2 separate regions of the Homo sapiens genome follow, and region 2 is linked to region 1. The links are contacts of gene promoters, found by promoter capture Hi-C in human tissues and cell types (Jung and others, 2019). All regions are on one chromosome and are shown on one strand. Each heading gives the region's core, a stretch centred on a gene start or on the middle of the fragment in contact. The rest is flanking DNA. Distances are from core to core; before and after follow the strand shown.

Region 1 (6,984 bases), core at 457-2,956:
TGTGTGTTTAAACAAACAAATTACCACGTCATGAACTTCTTTTACATTTCTTACAAGAGTAGAACAGATGAATTAGTATACAGACAGTAGGGTTTTGTTTGTTTTTACTGGGAAAAATTGCTGCTAAATTTTAGGAAGTTCTGCTGTCCTCAAAAAGAAAAATATGTCCCTCAGTTTTTTGTTACCTGGGATCTAGGAATGTTCTCTAATTAAAGAAATGGAATGGTGATGGTGTGTTGAAAGGTATAGGTTAATGAGTTAAAAAAAAAAAATCTACATTGCACCCTAAGGAAGGATGAACTTAACTATGCTGAACTGAATTGACAAGGGTTGAGCTAGTCAGTGTGCTAATGAGCAGGCTACTATTCTCATAGAATTTTTAAAAGTCTTTTCTGCCTGATATGTATGTGTGTATAATATGTATTTATATATGTATATATTTGTGTGTATATTTATTACATTTTTGTTTCCACAGGCTCTGTCATAAGTCTGGTCATTAATAGCATATATTTGATTAAAAGAATATGTGGCTTGGTAAATTATGTGAATGTTATATTAAAATGAATTTCACATTGTCTTGATTTACAAAGGCTAAGATGTCTGAGAAACTGAGAGATGTCAATCAACAGACTATTGTTTTAGCAATTGTACATAACACATAAAAATTCTGAATCAAAGTTATTATGTTATTCAATTGTGACCATACCTATTTTTTGTGACATTTTACAAAAATGAATAAAGTATGCACCATACAGTCTTACCACAGAAGTAAGGCAGGGTGGCATATGGCGAAACCACTTCAAGCTGCTGAAGTAGTTAACTGTGAAATATTTTACTGTCATAATATAGCATTATTTTCTGCCAGATGAATCATTCCGAAGAAGCTGTTTTCATGGTCAGTGTAAAAGTCCTTTTGTTAAATACTTATGTCTTAACTACCTACTAGATATTAAAAAAAACAAAACCACACACACACCAGACCTAGGTGCAAGGAAGGGATAATAAGCCCTGATGCAGTTCTTAGGTGAGAACTGGAAAGGGGCCGGAGGGTTTCAGAGCAACAAGCAAAGTCAGTGAAGCAGAGTAAATCCAAATACTTGGCCAATGACAAATAAACCAGAAAGGAGACACGCCAGCTGTTCACGCTGGAAAGTTACTGATCGTTTATTCTGGTTCAAGTTTTATTTATTCTATGAATAAGGGACAAGTTTTCGATGGGGGTGGGGTGTCTTATTCCTTATTACAAGAATAAGGAACGGGGAGTTTTCAAGGCAGGCGGGTGTTTCCTCAGGGCGCTTCCACACTCCCCTTTCAATCAGCAACCGCTCGGGGGGACCTCCACCTTGGGACGGAACCCCAGGACGCCTCTCCTCGGACGGCGGGGGTTTCTCTGCGCGCGTCCTCGGTCGTCTGGTCGCACGGCTTACCGAACTCTCGCCTCTCAAATTCTGAGTTCTGGAACAGGGCAGCGAGCTGCGCCGGCTCCCCTTTCTCGCTCGCTCCCTCCGAGCAGCGGCTGGCGGCGGGGCCCAGGCTGCGAACAAAGGCGGCGCGGGGCGCGCGGCCGGGGCTGGCGCGCGTCTCTCCGGCAGGAGGCGGTGGCGGCGCCGCGCCCGAGCCCGCATTCCTCAGAAGCGCCCGGAGCCCGCGGGGCGACGTCACCCCCGGCTCCGCCCCCGTCCCTCCCCGAGCAAAGTAACTCTTGACTAACAGGAGCAGCCTCCGCCGAGCATGGAGAGCTGCCGCCGCGGCCGGCCGGCGACGCTGGCGACGCTTTCGCCCCTGAGGTAGTTTGGCGACCGCGAAGAAGGAAAAAGGGCGGGCGGGCGGCTGTCCTCTCACCGTCCTCACCCCGCGAGGCCCGGCCCGCTCCTCCGTCGTGGATTTCGCGGCGATCCCCCCGGCAGCTCTTTGCAAAGCTGCTTGAAACTTCTCCCAAACTCGGCATGGATACGACTGCGGCGGCGGCGCTGCCTGCTTTTGTGGCGCTCTTGCTCCTCTCTCCTTGGCCTCTCCTGGGATCGGCCCAAGGCCAGTTCTCCGCAGGTGAGTGGCCGGGGGGCGTCCCCGACGAACGCCTGGAGTCCTGGGCTCACGAGGGGTGAGCCAGGTCCCCGCTAGGGCTGGGGACAAGGATCGTGGGGAGCTCTCTCTGTCCGGGGGTGGGGAACACAGGGTAGAGGGAGGGCTGTCCCCAGAGTTCGTGCCAGGTGGGACGCGGGGCACCCATTGTTCCTCTCCGAAGCTTGCTCGGGGCTCAGGCTGGCACGGTCTAGCCGGAGAGTGTGGGGACCTGCTGGCTTCGGCGTCTCGCGTGGCCTGCGCCGGGCTAGTGGGGAAGAGAGAAAGAAAAAGTAGTTACGACTCCCGTGACGGCACTCTGTTGCTTGTGGTGCGGGTTTGTTGCTGTCTGCCACTTGGGTGTTTAAACAAATTCCCTGGGAAGCCATTGTCAGAAATGTGGAGATTCGAAGGGACTGACCTCGGCGCGCTTTGCCAGGTGCTTTTTGTCCCGGGAATAACCTCCCCTGACTATTGTCTAACTACTTCCCCGTCCCTCCCGGAGTCCCCTTTTCTCCTCCCCCAGCTCTGGGTTGCTCCCGGGCTTGCCCTGTGCGCTCGGGCACTGCTTGGAGCATGTTCTGTGTGTGTGTTGGCGGAGCCCTGTAAGATGTGTTGAAATGCGGTTCTAAGGACCCACTCTGAGCGTTCATGGGCATCGAGGTCTGGGCGCCTGGTGGAGGAAGCCTGACTCGCGCGTGGGAGCCCGCTCCTCGGGCAAAACCACCGCCAGGCTGGCCCCGCGCTCCCCGGATCCGGCCTGGGGCTCTGGCCCCGCGCTCCCCGGATCCGGCCTGGGGCTGGAAGCGGACTGTAAATGTCTGCCTTCTGCCGGAGAACCCAAAAGGAGACAAGTGGAGCGTCTCGCTGTAGCCCTGGGGGTTCTCGGTCAAGCCGCTCAGAGAAGTCCGTGAACCCTGGCTCTCCCGGTCCCGCCCTCTGTTCCCCTCCAGTTTTGTTATCCTTCGTGTAGGTTGGTTGCTTCTTTCGTTCTCTCCTCTGGGGGCTCTGAAGTTTCACCAGGTGGACGCTGGGGAGCGGGCTCCCGAGCACTTGTCTACCTCCCGCCAGTCCTGACAACTTTTCTGGCCAACCTACCCAGCTTCGCTTGGCTGGCGAGCGCATCTGCTGCTGGGGTTCGCGGTGCAGATGGAGACGCAGTGGTGGCCAGAGGGTGATGGAGAAGACGGGAAAAGCGACAGCCACGCTCCTGGCTGAAGCCGCAGGACGCAAATAACTTACTTTGTACCTGACAGTTTCTCACGTTGTTGTGGAGGCCCTGTTTCCTGGAAATAAACTCAAATTGTTGTTTTCTGGAGTAATCGTTTATTTCCCTTCCATTGCTCTCCTACCCCCGCCCCATTTAGAACTCTGTAAAGGGAGTTAAACAACAGATTCAGGTGGCAGCATGTGTCGTACATTCAGGCAGAGATTATGAAATGGCAGCACGCAGAGGAAAAGCCCTGTATATAATTGATGTACGCAGAGGGTAACAGCTCTATGCAAAAAATAATCCAATGGTTTAATTGAATTCTTTCTGGAGTAAGCATTACTGCATGCATTTCTGACATATAATGCCCGTTAGCATTGAAACCGTGCTTGATGTAACTCATTATATGCAGGCAAGTTGGAGTGAGTATTGATTTCTGCACAGTGTTTGTCACTGCACGGAGAGCCTACGCTTGAAAAGGCTTGTAGTTTGTTAATTGAAAGTTTGAACTCTACCAGTTGCATAATTAAACTTACATGTATTCAAGAGTTGCAACTATTAATGTCTCAACAGCGATGGATATATTTTCAGCAGTTAGAAAACTTTTTCTCTTTTTAAATGTTATTTACCCTTTAATTAACAAATAAATACTACTTTTCCTCCAGCTGAATGTGAAAATGAGCTTTTCTGATACCTGGAGTTTAGATACGTACAATAAACAATTGTGTTCTTAGATATCTAGTTCTAAGTACTTTAACTAAATATGCCTGGCTTTTCTTTAGTGACAAAGCATAACATTTGACATGATGTTGTATATTTAATTAATATAATGTGCATTCCTAAAAAGTACAGTAATCACAGGATTGCATCTCAAGATTTTGCCCTTTAGGAATGTATGCCCAGAAATGAATGTCTTTTATTCCCAGAGTTTAAAGTCAGATTGTGGATTTGCCTTTCTCCACAAATTATAAGTTTGTTTTGTAAATACTTCCTTTTTTTTCTGGCTACCATAAATCATTTGATATTTTATTGTCATAAAATTCTATGGCAGTCAGATTTGTTGCAGACATAGATTAGAGATGTATTGAAGATTGGAGGTGTATTCCATATTGCTGGTTTTTCTTATATTTTACTTTAACTAGTGAACTTTTATTCCTTTTGAGAAATTTAAATAAACCCACTTTAAAAGTCCAAGACAAATTCATGTTGAGAATTTAAAAATATCTGAAGTATGTCTTTCAAATCATACTCATTAAGATCAGTTTACTTTCCGATATCATGTGGTTCCTAATGTAGTAAGCTTCAAAAGCAAATTTTGAAAGGCTGAGCATTGTTGGGACTTTGATGTGTCATATACTTATTCAGTTTTCTTTGTTTAAACCAAAAATGTAAGAGTGTTTTCATTATTGTGACTTTTTTCTTAGCTTTTGCAGTTAAAGTGTAAAACTGCTGCACTGTGAGCCTCTTTAAAACCAGAACGTTCTGTAAATCCCAACTCATACATTCTTTCAGTTTCACCTCTCACTTAAAATGACACCCATGTCATATCTGAGGAAACCGAGGCATAGAAGAATAAAGAAGTATTAAAGTTTATTCACTGGGTTGTATAGCTGTGATCTCTTGATATAATGTAAGAAAGTTTTCTGTAGAAGGACTTAGATGACTGACGAAACCAGATGCAGGTAAGGTGACTTGGAAACTCAGCTTTCTCCTCTGTAAAATGGGGATAATAATACCCAACTTGACCTTTCCACATGTTTTTTATGATTAAATGAAGTAATTTATGGGAACTAGCACTGTAAATTGTAAAGCACTGTGCAGCTATCTGGGGTGTAATCATCATTAAGTGCCTTAGTCTCAGCTTTTTACTCCTTCCAAATTCTCTCTCCAGTAAGTGCAGGCTGTTCAGGATTTGTGTGTGAGTGTGTGTGTGCGCACGTGTGTGTGTGCATGTGTGTGTGTGTTTTCACTCAGCCAGTCATTCATTTAATTATTGTTTAACATAGTTATTGTTAAACATAAACATACTAGATTGGCCAGACCATAATTTTGTCAGCACAATGATCGATTATCCTTAATTTTTTTAACTTACCTCGTATAAATCCTTACTTGAGTTAGACCCATGGAAGAGTCACTATTAACATTCCTGGCATTTCTAACTACAGAAAAAAATATTTTTAGTCAGTTTCTTTAGCTGTTTGTTTAACTGTTGGTTCAGGTTTTCAACTCTGTGTTGAGAATAATATGTAGCTTTCTAGATGCAGTCTTATCAATGACCTAGAGAGGGACTATTGTCTCTCTTGTATGATAGGAGCCTGGAAATACAGCTCGAGATCCTGCTTTGTCTATAGTTCCTGACATGTCACCCTGTTGATGTGCACTTAGAATGCTGTAACTCATCTAAGCAGCACCTGAGCAGTATCTGACTCCTTGTTGTCTCTTTAGGTGAGATTAATTTCTCTTATACTTATTACCTGCTAGGAAGATACTTTGGAGCCAGCTTGCTTTAAGGTTTGCCTGTTAGTTTTTTTTGGTTTTGATTGGCTAAATATCCCTCGATCCCTCAATTCATTAAAACTCCACGTTCTAATCACTAGCAATCATATGTAGCTGGACATTTCCAGGACTGTTTTTTTTTCTCTCTCTAGTTCTCTTGCATCTGACTCTTGATTTTCCTAGGTCGTGAGATGTAGTTTTGTGTCTGGCCTACCCAGACGGAAAGAGGAGAGTCTGGCTGCTGTTTGGACATTGGCATGTGTGCTGCTGACAGCTCTTCTCTTTGTGCTCATAAAAGTGAATTTCAAAAATAAATCAACCCCTCTGCCACTCTGCCCCCTCCCACACTCCCTCCTACTCTTTTCTAGCAAAAACAGAGCCCCACATATATATACACAAGATCACAGCCCTTTTGTTTTTGCCAAATATATTTTAGTGCTGTACATGTCCTTAAGAACTGGAAATATGACTCATCCACTAACCAAAGCTAATGCCAACATTCCCACCAAATCTCATATTTCTAGCAATGATGGTTTGTTACAGGTTTTTCTGGCCTTTAAGGTAATATTTAATTCATGTGATAAGATTCCATATAGAAAAAGTGTGTTGGCTACTAATATTTTTAAAGTGCAGTATACCAGGTCTACTCAAACTGGTATTAAAGACAGTGAACATCATGCTAAATAGGGATCTGTGCTGCTCCCATTTCCCCTACTTGCTTTTCATGGAGTGCAGGAAGAGAGATGCTGGAAGATTGAGAGCAGGAAGCATCAAGAAAGTTTACAGATTGTTCTTAAAGACAAAACAAAGAACACAGGGATTCTGTGTGTGTGCACGTGTATGTGTGTGTGTGAGTGTGTGTATGTGTTTTTGATCTTTTACTTAATTTTTAGAAGAGGAAAAAAGTCCTATGGTATTTTTGACTTGTTTATTGAAATCAGCCTTTGCCTTTGCGCAAACACATTTTCTAGTTCTGTCAATGTAAAAATTTCCCTCTGTGTATTCTTCTCAGTCTTTACACTTTGATCATATGTATCTGGTCTGTGTTCCTTCTTCAAATGGTGTTTCTTTTTGCCTAAAAAGGTTGTAATTGCTTTTGAACATGACTTGTTTTTTTAATCAAAACTCATGCTGTTTGTCATAGTACTGAAAAAAAAAAGTACAAGACATCAATTCATGATAGGTCTTAAAACAGTATTTGATAACAAAGTAAGTGA
Region 2 (6,394 bases), core at 240-2,739, 720 kb before region 1:
ATAATACTGAGCAGGATAAATTAAACATATCTGTCAATTTCCATTTAGGATCACAAACAGGGCAAGCGATTCATCTTCTTAGATCCCAAAGCCCGCGAGCCTTAAACTCTGAAAAGGTATCCCTCCCATAGAAGTGTTTATTCATGCATCTATTTGTAGAGCTCTCTTTTATCATAGAAACAGTGTTTTACTTCAAGGTTTTGTTATTTCCTTCAGTGTATGTATAAATTTGAGTTAAGAACAGATTTCTCTTCTTTAAAAGCTCGATAATTATTAGAATAGAACATAAACAAGAGGATTGTAGAATTAGAAAACAGGCAGAATTTACATGAGAGGTTTTAAAGTTACATCATCCTTAATGCATAGAAAATGAACCAGAGTTGTAGGTGTCGAACAGAGACAACACATTCTAGAAAAGTTGGTTTAGAAGGGAATAAACTGAGTTATGCAGTCCAGGGGATATAAATAAAAAACCTCGAGGAAAACATCCTGCCTGCCTGCATTCATTTCTCTCTTCCACCTTTTTTTTCCTTCCTATCTGCTTTTCCTGCCCTCTTTTTTTCCTGTTACCCATCTTCTCCTTAGCTTTCTTCTTCATCTCCTTCTCCTCTTCCTCCTCCTTCTTCTTCTTCTTTTCTTTTTCTTCTTGTAGCCATTAGACTGTTTTGATAGCATTTCTTTTCACAATAACTATGTCCTTTCACACGTGCATTAATTAGAACTGGTTGGGAAAAGTCCTGAATTTGGGATTTTTTTTTTCTTTTTCAATGTGACCACTACAATCAGTTTAACCTGATAAGATAACCTGTATTGGGTGACCTAAATTGCAGAAGTATAAAAAGTAGTGATGAAAAGTATGAATGTGACAGAGTCAAGGACATAGTTCTGGAACAGACCACCAGAGATACTGCCTCAAGTGTAACTAACACTGATTGCTTATCAGTGTCCTAGAAGCTCAGCCCGTCCACTGCTCACAGGATTACTCACTCATATTTTTTCTTCCTACATTTCATATAACTCCACATTCTCATAAAATACAGCCTAGACAATATTTATATACAGTGTTTCTTATCGTTAAGGCCAAGAGATATTCATTATAGTGTTTTGATTGGCAAGGGGAAAAAGAGTAACTGTGAAAGGCATATAGAGAGGAATGAGAGGCCAACATGAATTTCTCATACAAATTTTTGTTAAAATGTTTATTCACTGGAATAGCACTGACCTATCTTGAGCATATGTTTTGTCTGCTGTGTAACAAAGTAAGGCCCAATTATACTTTCCATGTACTCAGCTATAATTCAAAGTAAATAGAATTTGAAGAGTTTGATCAGGTAAGAATGCTTTTGGCTGCAATTGAAAACCAGACAATTAGGAGTTCTCATATAACAAGAAGTCCAACAAAATGTGGTAGGCAGACAAAATTTTAAAACAAATGGATTAGCTTTTATTTTCTTATTTCACGTATCTTTCCCCAACACAGATCCATTTGAGCACACTTGAAAATATAAATCTCCTATGAATAGATTTGCAAAACATCACATAGAAGAAGATGATGTGCTTAGAAAGGCAACATTCCATATAGGAAATGAGTATTTAATGTTTCCTTTAAGTTTTCTGACTTAGCGTACTACTTGTTACTTTATGACATACACTGATCAAATCTTGAGTTGAAATAGTACAATCTCAACAGATGTGAGTAAATGGTAGTGGTGAAATTCTCTGAAGTGCTTCGTGCTGTTAGGCCCAGACCCAAAAACAGGGTCTTTGCAACAGCTGTTTGTTTTCCATTTACTAACTTATGTTTGGATGAAACATTCCATTAGCACTTTTACTATGGGCTAGATTAATTTGTGTGTAAATATTCAGTGCAAAAAATACATGTTATCCATAATTAAACATTGATCTAATCAAATAAACCATAAGTTATAGTTTTATATTAATACAGAGATTTCTTATTGACTAGGGTTCAAAATTTTTTCAAGGTCTCTGCCAAGAAAACAAAAAGCCACACGCTCATAATATACAACATCAATGCTGATTAAAATAACAGAAAAAATTTTAATCCAAGTTCCTTTAAGCTAAAGAGAAACAGGCTTGCTATTGTCAAATAGATAACAAATGAATAAAAAGAAAATGTATAATCCTTGTGGAAAATTTATGTAACAAAGAGATATCAGCAATGCAATTTTCTTTTTAAATGAGAATTGTAGTTAACCTTTCACTTACTGCTTAAAGATTTTGTCTTTAAGGATATTCATCATGTTGGACAGTAGATGGCTATGGTATGGCCCTTTCTACTTCTGTTGCAAAGGGAGGAACAATAGAAAGTATAGAAAACAGAGTTCTCATCTTGCCTTGTAGGCAATCCTCATTGCTTACGTACACCTTCCACAACCCTGGATATGGCCTAAAGTGCTAAATATGAGTTGAATGAATTTCAGGTTACATTATTCAGATGGAGGGCATTTTGAAATAGCAGACAACGTATTTCCCAGAAAAGCAGAAGCCAGAACACCAACCTTGGAATACTATTTTGATGTGATGCCAAGTGGTATTGATCTGCCACTATTCCCTTTTCACTCTTCCCTCATTCGTGAACTCTGCAGGTGATTCTTTCTTACAGCAGTAGAAAGTGGTTGTGAATTTTAGAAGATAAGAATCCCAAAGGTGCAATGGATACTAAGTCACACTCCAGAGGAGAATCAACAGGGTAATAAAATACATTTTAAGTGTCTTCTTCCAAAATAAACAGGTAAAGGGTTGTGTTAGTTGTTTGACATGTCTGTTAATATTGGAGTCATATATAAATCACACAAAAAATTAAGCTCATTTCTGGAGATTTTCCAGAGCTGGTTGTGGATTTTGATTCTGCCTTTAAGCACTACAAGGCCCTTGGGAAAGTTAATTTTGCTTTCAGAGCATCAGTGAATTTTCACTAAAATGAGACGAATCACACCTACCTCCGAAGTTTGCTCTTAGGATGAAATGAGAAAATAAACATAAAACTCCCCACTTGGTACCTAGCACATAACATGTATTCAATAAATGTTGTCATACTGTTTTAATAAGTATAGTTTTCAAAATTAAAATACTGTAAACATTTCACACTAAAAACCTAGTGGTTTATTTCATAATTCTAAATGCACTTGAAAATCCCACGTTTTGGGGAGAGATCATAGTGATGGCCCAATTCAGATTTTATTCACGTCTTAATGTTTCCCTATGGAATTTTGCATAAGCATCTTATAGATAGTAGATCTTGCATAAGTATCTGCTGAATTTTAATCACATTCAACACCATATATCACTTCAATGTATTACACATAGAGAAGGCATAAAAAACTGGGATAAATTTGTACTACCCCATGAGATACCCTGCCATCATTAAAATATGTCTTTATTGGTTTCTCTGTTCTTAGCTTTATCAGTCCTAAAAATAGGCTAAAGGAGATGTATCTATTTGAGCTTTTCTGTGATTTGAGCTTACCTATAAAAAGCTTACTGTACTGCAGACTGGTGAACCACAAATGCATTTGTTTTAAAATAAGGAAGCTTTAGTGTTTGGGAAGTTTGATCTGCAGTTGAAGGAGAAAAATCAATATTTAAGTCACTTAGACATTTACACACATAAATCAACTCTATGGCATTACTTTTCCCAGCTTCTGTATATTAGGATAATAGTGTAAATTCTAGCACCTAGTAATATATACTTTATAAGTTATAAATGCATTTTCAATTTGTTATGATATATAGGCAAACAACATACTCTCTGTATTAGGAAGACACATAGTGTATAGATTAAAGGAAACGGCGATCCAGGAGCAGTCATAGCTAGTCAGAGCACATCCAGAGCACTGTGATCAATTCATGACACCACCATTTAAGAGAGTAGTTGACAAATTAGACTTCATCCATAGAGGTGTGACCAGGATGTTGATGGTCCCAACAGCTGAACAAAAGGTTTGGAAAGGTAATGGGAGTATTTAAAAAGAGAAGACTTAGGAAAAGCATGATTGTTTTCTTGGAACATTTGAAGGCCTATCAAGTATACCAGAAAAAAAATCTCACTGTTCATAGTGGAGAAATAGAACCTGTATGAGAAAGCGTTGGAGAATGTGGTGATTAATATTGACTGTCTACTTGACTGAAGTATGCAAAGTATTGTACCTGAGTGTGTCTGTGAGGGTGTTGCCAAAGGAGATTAACATTTGAGTCAGAGGGCTGGGAAAGACAGAACCACCCTCATTCTGGGTAGGCACCATTTAATCAGCTGCCAGCGTGGCTAGGATAAAGCAGGCAGGAGAACGTGGAAGGTCTAGAATTGCGCAGTCTTCTAGTCTTCATCTTTCTCCTATGCCGGATGCTTCCTGCCCTTGAACATCAGATTCCAAGTTTTTCAGCTTTTGGACCCTTGCACTTACACCAGTAATTTGCCACGGGCTCTCGGGCCTTCGGCCACAGACTGAAGGCTGCACCGCTGGCTTCCCTAATTTTGAGGTTCTGGGAATCGAACTGGCTTTCTTGCTACTCAGCTTGCAGATGGCCTATTGTGGGACTTCACCTTGTGATCATGTGAGCCAATTCTCCTAACAAACTCCCCTTCATATATACATCAATCCTATTAGTTCTGTCCCTCCAGAAAACCCTGTGTAAGAATTAACTTCTAAAATCTGGAGCTAGATGCAGTGGCACACAACTATAATTCCAGCTACTTGGGAGGCTGAGGCAGGAGGATTGCTTGAGCCCAGGGGTTTGAGACCAGCTTGGACAACACAGCAGAACTTCATCTAAAATAAATAAATAAAATAATATCTAGAGCTGTTGAAAATGGAATGTGCTGCTTTGTAGGGTATCCATTTCTCTGAAGATACATGAGTAGAGATCCACCTGTCTGGGGTGATAGAAAAGGAATTCCTATATCTGCTGAGACATTGGACTAGATCTGATCTCACTGGGAAACATGCAATTGCACCATGCCAGTTTATTAACAGTGGGTTATTTAAATATTAGAGTTAGTCCACTGAAATTTCTATTGTAGGGTAATAGAATAGCAATTAGCTTTATCCACCTGCTTCCTGCTCTGCAATTTTAGAGCTAAAGCTTATATAGGGTACAGCAATACATTTCATTAGGAGAAAATTTCTTGTACAGATAGTATTAGGAAGATGGTATAGCATAGTGGAAAAGAGTACAGTTCTAGAACTGGACTACCTGGGGCAAAACACTCAGCTCTGCCACTTTTTAGCTGTGTGTGACAGGAGTGAATTACTTAGTCTCTCTTTGTGTCAAGTCTCCATCAGGGAAATCAAAACAATATAACAGTAACTACCTCATAGCGTTGTTGTGATGATTCAATTGAATAATCTAGAATAGTATTTGACATTTTGTAAATGTAAACAAGTTAGCAGTTATCATTGTTCCTGTTATTGTTGCTATTATGTAAAACAATCTCCAAAATATTGTAACTGCCCAGAGCAAGATTCTCTGACTACTATACCATGGCAACAAATCAGTATGATCTGGATTTTTAAAATTTGAAAACAAAAACATCTGGTATGTTATTTTAGCAAGCTACAGATAATACAAAAAAAAAAGGTAGATCTCAAAAAATAAGGAGACCCAATTGCTGAACCATATGTAATCAAAGCTAACATTTTCATGGAACTTTAGAATTTCAAAAGTACTCTTTATCCTCATTTAATCTCCGGAAATTGTATAATGTAGGTTTATTATTATTATTCTATTGTATAGATGGAGCAATCGTGGCTCTAAGAGGTTAAATTGTTCAAGTTCACACTGTTACTTTGGTGATACTATAGTGCATCCTTGATTTATATATTCCTTTTAAACACTTCTCCTCAAGACAAACTCTCACTCTTGGGCTTTCTCTCTCTCTCTCTCTCTCTCTCTCTCACACACACACACACACACACATGAACACGCTCAGTGGTTTCATGTGACTATAATGCAAAAGTATATGTTTAAGAATGAGACTTACCCACTTTCTAATTGTAGTCTATATATTTGCTGTGTGATTTTGGGAAAATTAATTCAACTCTGAATTATACGTTATGTTATGTCTAAAAGGGCATGAAAATACCTACTTTGAAGGGTTTTAAAAAGAAATTCATAAGAGGAACACAGAACCCATTCTTCATGTTCTATAGTAACAGGCAGATAGAATTTATTTAAACATTATTTCTTTTCCTCTCCTAATTATTCTTGGGATTCAGTAAGTTCAGAATAGATTTTTGAATTAGATTTTAAATGCTTGTGTGGAAAAAAATATAATTGTCTCTCTTCCTTTTTTTTTTTTTGAGATGGAGTCTTGCTCTGTTGCCCAGTCTGGAGTGCAATGGCACTATCTTGGCTCACTGCAACCTCTGTCTCCCAG

What was found. Contacts are between HindIII fragments. The study calls those that stand out against the background at their distance.
Region 2: a contact is called between a fragment that was not itself captured here and the fragment with the promoter of PTPRK in region 1, in 1 of the 25 tissues and cell types used here (dorsolateral prefrontal cortex).

The regions. Positions count from the first base shown.
Region 1 is chr6:128,515,321-128,522,304 of GRCh38, reverse strand. It overlaps PTPRK (protein tyrosine phosphatase receptor type K), which reads left to right and starts at 1,706. Exons shown (of 30, transcript NM_002844.4): 1 at 1,706-2,046. The coding sequence starts at 1,947. RefSeq lists enhancers at 1,344-1,938, 1,939-2,532. The HindIII fragment of the contact is 5,372 bases long and covers 1-3,408 here.
Region 2 is chr6:129,238,096-129,244,489 of GRCh38, reverse strand. All of the region lies in intron 12 of LAMA2 (laminin subunit alpha 2), which reads right to left. Among named protein-coding and RNA genes, the nearest start is that of LAMA2, 360 kb to the right of the region's middle. RefSeq lists a silencer at 4,308-4,517. The HindIII fragment of the contact is 5,674 bases long and covers 1-4,326 here.